2 separate regions of the Homo sapiens genome follow, and region 1 is linked to region 2. Evidence: promoter capture Hi-C in human tissues and cell types (Jung and others, 2019). All regions are on one chromosome and are shown on one strand. Each heading gives the region's core, a stretch centred on a gene start or on the middle of the fragment in contact. The rest is flanking DNA. Distances are from core to core; before and after follow the strand shown. Region 1 overlaps LOC105377379 (a long non-coding RNA gene). Region 2 holds the start of UGT8 (UDP glycosyltransferase 8).

The links. Contacts are between HindIII fragments. The study calls those that stand out against the background at their distance.
Region 1: a contact is called between a fragment that was not itself captured here and the fragment with the promoter of UGT8 in region 2, in 2 of the 25 tissues and cell types used here (H1 embryonic stem cells and spleen).

Annotation. Positions count from the first base shown.
Region 1 is chr4:114,478,187-114,481,807 of GRCh38, forward strand. The region is part of intron 2 of LOC105377379 (a long non-coding RNA gene); the gene reads left to right. Among named protein-coding and RNA genes, the nearest start is that of UGT8, 120 kb to the right of the region's middle. The HindIII fragment of the contact is 5,639 bases long and covers 1-3,621 here.
Region 2 is chr4:114,597,324-114,601,058 of GRCh38, forward strand. UGT8 (UDP glycosyltransferase 8) reads left to right here and starts at 1,484. Exons shown (of 6, transcript NM_001128174.3): 1 at 1,484-1,651. The HindIII fragment of the contact is 5,100 bases long and covers 1-3,200 here.

The DNA of each region.
Region 1 (3,621 bases), core at 188-2,687, 120 kb before region 2:
CTCCCTAGTAGCTGGGACCACAGACGTGCACCACCAAGCCAGGCTAATTTTTTTGTATTTTTGTAAACAGAATTTTGCCATGTTGCTCAAGCTGGTCTCGAACTCCTGACCTCAAATGATCTGCCCACCTCAGTCTCCCAAAGTGCTGGGATTACAGGCATGAGCCACTGTACCCCAGCCTGTATTGCATATTCTTGATATTTGCAGGTAAACCACATCATTTATGAATTTTGATGTATGCATATGACAGAAAAATTAAAAACAAACAAAAGTGGTTTAAACAACATATACGTTTATCTTATTTTATACAAAAGAAATCCAGATTTGGCCAGTGGAAGCATATCCACAGTGTGATTAGAGGCCAGGCTTTCTTCTTTCTCCTCTGTAGCCCTTGCACATGGTTTCTTCAAGGTTACTTCATGGTATTAGATGGATTCTGAAGCTCCTGAAATCACTTTCATGACAGCACAAAAATAAGAATAAAGAAGAGAAAAGCAAAATGGGGACTTTCTGGAGATACAACACAGTGCTTAATATTTCATTGAACAAAAGTCATCTGGCCACAGAAAGCTGCAAGAGAGTCTTTTATTCTAGGTATCAATGTATTTAATGAAACCTGAGTTCTGATACTAGTATTTTTTGGAATAAGGTAGCTCTTCCTCCCACTATTTGGCATGATTTGGTTTTTTTCAGTCCTGTAGAAATTCTTTGAAACCTGTATGCTGTGATTAGTGATGGAAAATACACTGCAAAAAGTTTCAGATAGATGCAGATTAAGGCCATTTTATAGATTTGGTTAGAAGAAAACAAGAAAGTTCTTCTCTGACTGTTTCTGTTTCCTCATTAGAATATGACTGCCCATGTAGAATGCCCACTTAAAGCTCATGATGTTCCCTTTAAGTAAAAACCAGTCAGCTTACTCATATGATATTTCTTTCCAGCCACAGAAGTTTCTTCTGTCTTCATGTTAGAAGGTGAATTACTCATTAAAAATTTGGTTTGTCAGAGAATTACCATAGAAAGTGGCAGATGTAGAGAAATTGAGGATATTTGCAAACAAGTTTTTTTAATGAGTGATGGTAGTGTGGAACCATATAATCTAATGTGGTTTAAAAGGAAAACTAATATACAAGGAGACAGTATGGTAATGAGAAAATCGCGAGGTCAAGGAATTGGTCCTCAATGAAGTTGAGGAATTATTTCAGCAATGGTACTTTTGCAAGTGAGATAGAAAAGTAAAAGACAATCGTTGTAAAGCAATATGGTTGAAATACAGATGCTGTAGTTGACATAGTTTCTAGAAGAGAAGCATCTAGAATGTTGTTGGGTTCAGTCAGGCTGGTAGGGAAAATATTAGAGATAGTTACAGAGATAGACACAAATCTTGGAAGGCCAAGAAGTTTGCATAACTTTGGTAACAGATATGGTTGAAGACAACCTGATCTTAACCTTTAGTTAAATAAAGTAGAGTAGTAACAAAGGAATGTGGGGTAGTTAACTAGCTAGCTTGTTTACTCATGTGGTCTTAAGACTAACCTTTGATGTACCACAGGTGCTTAAGTGCTTTTTACTCGGGAAGTCCACAATGTCAATTACCCTCTAATGGTGTTGACTCAAGCCTTTGTGAATTAATCTTACTGAATAAATGTGAGTCTCATCAGCTGATTGGGCCATAGTTGCAACTGTTCACAATACTCAGCAGGGAATTTGTAAATGGCTTGGACACTCAGCTGAACTGGCAAAACAGATTATCTGTGTGTCAGTGTACTTTATTCATCCGTCGCTGGGTCAGGGTCTGCAGGCAGACCCCGGCAGCTGGTGCCCCTGTGTGAGGAGTGCTACCACAGGATTTGACCACGGGGATGATTTGTTGAGATGGAGATGGCAGTAAATGTTATTTAAAATGAAGAGGGCAAACCATGCATTATCAGCCTGTTGAATAGGTCTTCCTCTTGGATTTTGAATTCAATAAAAATGCTGATAGACAGGTAGATGTAGAAAACAAAATTGGTGGATCAGCAATTATAAAGTCAGATTGGGTAGAACTGGCTAGTGCGGAAGAACAAAAGAAAACCTCTGCTTGAGAAGGCTACAAAGAAGGCAATCTCCTCAGATCCTCAGAAGATTCTGAAGTGTCAGTTGGGACAAAGGAACTGGAGGGAATTTACAGAGAAGACAGAATATACGGGAACATACTGATCGTAGAACAGTATTTCAAGGACGTGATAGGGTTTGGAGAAGAATGGTGGGAACAGAAGAGGATATCGTTTTCTAGGCATCAATCTACATTGAGTTTGTAAAAACACTGATATCTGTAGTTTTTAGAACAGCAATACCACACAAAAAGAGAAACACAGAACTCATTACATTGTTCCGAGGAACCATCGATATGTGTGTGTCCATTAGTCCCCCAACAGAGTGGAAGGGTTTATAAGGTAGGGAAGCATTGATGGAAGGGAGTAAATAGAAGAATATCGAAAGAAGTATGAAGATGAGAGTGTAGGTGCTACTGGATGATCATAGTGGCAGTGATGATATAAATGGTGATGGGAAACAAGACAGAAACAATTATTTGTAGGAGGTGGGCATTCTGCATCAGGGTCTAGCTTTGTCATCTGATCTGTCGTTGGCACTGATAACTTCTGCTTAATACTTTCAAGCACATTCTCTTTCCTTATTTTGTTATCAAAAGATTCTCCAAAATATTATATTTGACATTTCTGTTCTAATCTTACTATAACATAGTGGTTAAGATTTCAGTTTTCAGAACCAAAAAGATCTGGGTTTGTATCATAATTCTTCTATTTATTGGCTATGTGACCTTGTCATGTTGCTTTACCTCCAGACAGTAATATGGGGATAATATCACCTACCTCATAACTTTATCCTGAAAGTCGTTGTGAAATGCCAAGCACAAAATGTGGTATACAGTAGTTGGTCATGTTAATTTTTATTAGCTGTTACTATTCTAGCCTAAGCCCTTTTTATGTTGATATCTCAGCAAGCTATTTGAATTATCTGCTTCTATACATTATTACTTGATTCCCAAAATTCCTCTCAGATTACTTTTCTAAAATTTTGCTTTCATTTTATCACTCTCCTGGTTCTGGTAGTGGAATAATTTACTGATATTGTGTCCGGAATTGTTGGGTTCTTGGTCTCGCTGACTTCAAGAATGAAGCCGCAGCCCCTTGCAGTGAGTGTTACAGTTCTTAAAGACGGTGTGTCTGGAGTTTGTTCCTTCACATGTTCAGATGTGTCCGGAGTTTCTTCCTTCTGGTGGGTTCACGGTCTCGCTGGCTTCACGAGTGAAGCTGTAGACCTTCGTGGTGAGTGTTACAGCTCATAAAGGTGGCGTGGACACAAACAGTGAGCAGCAGCAAGATTTATTGCAAAGAGCAGAAGAACAAAGCTTCCACAGCGTGGAAAGGGACCCGAGCGAGTTGCTGCTGCTGGCTTGGGTGGCCTGCTTTTATTCCCTTATCTGGCCCCACCTACATCCTGCTGATTGGTCCATTTTACAGAGAGCTGATTGGTCCATTTTACAGAGTTGATTGGTCCGTTTTGACAGAGCACTGACTGGTGCATTTACAAACCTTTAGCTAGACACAGAGTGCTGAT
Region 2 (3,735 bases), core at 234-2,733:
GCTGTGAAAATATTCCCTGCATTTTGCACAGGGAATATGTTCAAATTCCTAATCTGCAAAGAAGAAAAGTGCATTTTCTTTTTTGAAATGGCATTTGAAGATCTCTCCATCCATGAACATTCTTGAGCATATGGATTTTACAATAACAGCAGTGTATATTAGTTTTTTAATTTATCATTAACTGATAACATATACAGTAAAATATAATTTCCGTTTTCTTATCTAAGGGCAGAAAATCCCAACCTATTTCTGAATCTCACTTTGGAACAAGGACAGAATGACCTGACATGGCATTTTTGATTTCCAACGTTTAAACGCATAACGTTTGTGTGCTATGGAAGCATCTTAGCTTCTGGAATTTATGCTCGACACGAAACATAAACAATAAACAATTCAGTCCACGTTATATAGACATATCTCATATATATATGAGATATATATATATAAAATATCTTACGCACATGCACACTTAGACTTTCTCGGTTTTCATGAAACTCACAATCTACCTCAGGCGCTCAAAGGCACTCGGCCTCTCAGGTCTGAGGCACCACAGAGAGGCTTCCTTGGGCACAGTTGCTTGCTGGTCAAGACGCCAACTTGGCAAGGTTATGCTGCTGGCAAAGGCAGATTCGTCAGAATAAAGTCGCCACAGGCTCAACCAGGCAAATCATGAATGGCCCTTTCAGCAGGAGCCTGAGAGGAGGGATGTTATTCAGCCCAGCAACCCTATTTACTTTTTTTCAGGATCCCCAAACTCGCGTTTTTTAAGGCTTTCCGCTACAAGAGAGCCAGAATTGAAGCCTGGGTTGGCGGCAGTGCAGGTACCTGCTCACCTAAGCATCCCTCTTTTAATTTTCCTAACTCCTCCACCCACTTGCCCAAGTATAACTTTTGAATGGATTCAGCAGAAGTGAGGCAGGAAAGGCAGGAAGATGAGAAAAGGCGCGACATCAACACGCAGAGCTCACTGAGCCGCCTTGATGATAAAAGGCGGGCACAGGGACTACGTGGGTGGTGGCAGAAAGGGCGCGGGACACGCCTCGCAAAGAGGGAAGAGTGGGCGGGGCCACGTGCCGTTGTCAGAGTTCGCAACTCGAGCGCCCAGAGGGCTCGCGAAAAGTCCCAGCCTGCAAGCCAACCTCGCTCAGCGGACGACTGGCCGGATCCCAACGCGCTGCCCCTTGCCCAGCCTGCGAGCGCGTGGTACGAAGGCGCGTCTGCATCCATGCCCCAGCCCGGGGAGCTGGAGGCGCTCGCAGTCAGAGGCGAGTGATGCTAGGCTGAGCGCGTGGCGGCCCGTGTCGTGCCCCGCTGAGCCAAGTGCGGAAGGGCAGCGGCGCGCTCCGACTCTGCTCGCCGCACGCAGGGCGGGGCGCGGCTGGGGGGCGGGGGGCCTGGCCGCCCGCTGGGAGCTGCGGACGAGCAGGCGCGCTGAGGACCCGAGGGAGGACACGGTTAAAGCATTGCTATCAACTGTGAACCCAGAGAGCCCTCCTTAGCCAACACGCTAACTCCGAAGCCTCCCTTACGCCCCCGAACCACCGAAGGCGGCGACACCTGATTCAGCGCACAAACACAGGTCCCTTCTGTCCCGGATACAATTACGCGGCAGACACACACTCAAACTCGCGCGGGGCAGCCAAGAGACGAGGTGAGCGGAGGGACCACGCCGTTCCAGAGGGCGGAAGGGGGGGCGGTCTGGGTGGAGGAGAGGGGCGTTGTTTGCTCCCTGAGGTGAGTGCCGGGCGAATGGCTGCTGTCCAGGGGCGGGGGGGTGGGAATTAGAAAGCACAGACAGGGTTGGGCTGAGGAAGTTAGAAGTGGTTAGTGGGGGTTGGCGGGGTAGGGAGAAAGGCTAGGGGTTGAGGGGGTGTGAAGGAGATCTTTTTAGGCTGGCCCCTCATAGCGCCCGCGATCCTGTTTCTGCCATATGGCATCCGTTCGAGGGTTCTCTCGCGTTTGTGCGCTCAAGGCAGAGGGAGGGTATAACGGGGAGGCGATTCGGCCGAGGACCTTGTACTTGACCCCTGAAGGGATGGGCACCGCGGAGCCCAGAGGCCAGAGCCAGCTGCCAGGGCAGGGATGGAGGTGGGGGACCAGGAGGAGCTTCGGGACCTCTTCAACTCCCCTTTACTCCGTCTTCCCCCTAAGGAGGAACAAGAGCGGGATGTGTTGGGGGTGGGGAATGTCTTGGGGCTGTACAAGCTCGCTGAGACTTTTCGGGGCCCGCCGTTTCCGCGTGCCCGCGCGACTCTCGACAATGGACAGTGTACAGTGGTGGCAGGGTTTCACGGGTCCCCGCGCCGATTTGGGAATGGTACGGGGTGCCCTTGCATTAGAGAAGCCTGTGCGGGCCCCCGGGATTAGAGAAGAGGTGAGCGCCTGCGGGCGGGGAGAGAAGGACGCGCTGCTGGCAAAAAGAAGGGCGCCTTCCATGGACTGGAGGAGCGGCGAGGGAGCCTGGTATGTGTGTTTTGGATTTGAAGGAGGCAAACCGCATCGGAGAGTGCAAGTAGATGCAGTGCGTCGGGGCAAAAGGACAATCTGAGGAGGTGGGCGGGGTACCCAATCTCTATATACAAGCTTTCTGGTTTAATTGAGGGTTTATAAAATTGAGTACGGTAAACCTGCCATTGTGCAGCACTTCCTTAGGAAAGGAATAGCCTCTGTACCTGTACCGCGAGTTCCCATCACCTTTCAGCATCTAGGCGGGGAGAGGAGAGAAGGTAGAGAACTTCTGAGAGAGTTCTGAGAACTAACGCGAATGGCTGGATTGCGCTAACTAGGCGTTCTTAGCAGGAAAATGTCGCCAAGGGAAGGAGTGGGTGGCGGTATCAAACCAGGCGTGCTCTGGAGAATCACCTTTATTATGAGCCAGTGTTAGCAGTGACGATAGAGTCTTTTATTTCTGGGGATCCTATTGGTAAAAATTAGAAAAAAACCACACTACTCCAAATACTCCAAAAATCTTCAGTCCCCTCAGGCTGTCACCTTGTACTACCAGTTTTTCAGTATCAATGACGTGAATGTTAGGGAGTTTGGCTAGATGCCAAATTGTTATCATTTCTGATAATTTCATGTTCAAAAACGTCTATATTCACTCAAAATTGGCGTGCTTCTGACATATCCCCAGAAAAAAATCACCACCATTTGAAGGAAGGATAGAAAGTGCCCTTTTTTCTTTTCTTTTTTAAAAACTTTTATTTTAGGTTTTGGGGTACATGTGAAGGGTTGTTACATAGGTAAACACATGTCACAGGGGTTTGTTTTACATATTATTTCATCACTCAGTTATTAAGCCCAGTACCCAATGGTTATCTTTAACCAATATTTTAATAGTGTTAAGAGTAACCATACTTTGTCCCCAGGAGATTTTAAAATTAGAGTCATGCATCTTAATATTATATGGTAAAGGAGACCAGAACTTTGTGTTACTTGAATTAAATCTTAGCCAGCTTAGTTTTCTCCTATAGAAACTGTCTCTTGGTGGTTTGAGGTTTTGCTTTAGGAATGTGTCTGTGTTCAGCAACTCTTCTAGATAATGCCAGAGAAAAACACTCTAGTATTGTATGATTTGCCTGCCACCTACAAGGTTAAGTTGACATCTAGTGTTGTGTGACTTAGTATTATACAAGTCTTTAAAAACTACAATAAAGCATAGTGCCCCGATATTTAGTAAAGGCTTGATACTCTATTAGGAGGTTGGGCATAACTGAACAGAAACTATACTTCTGA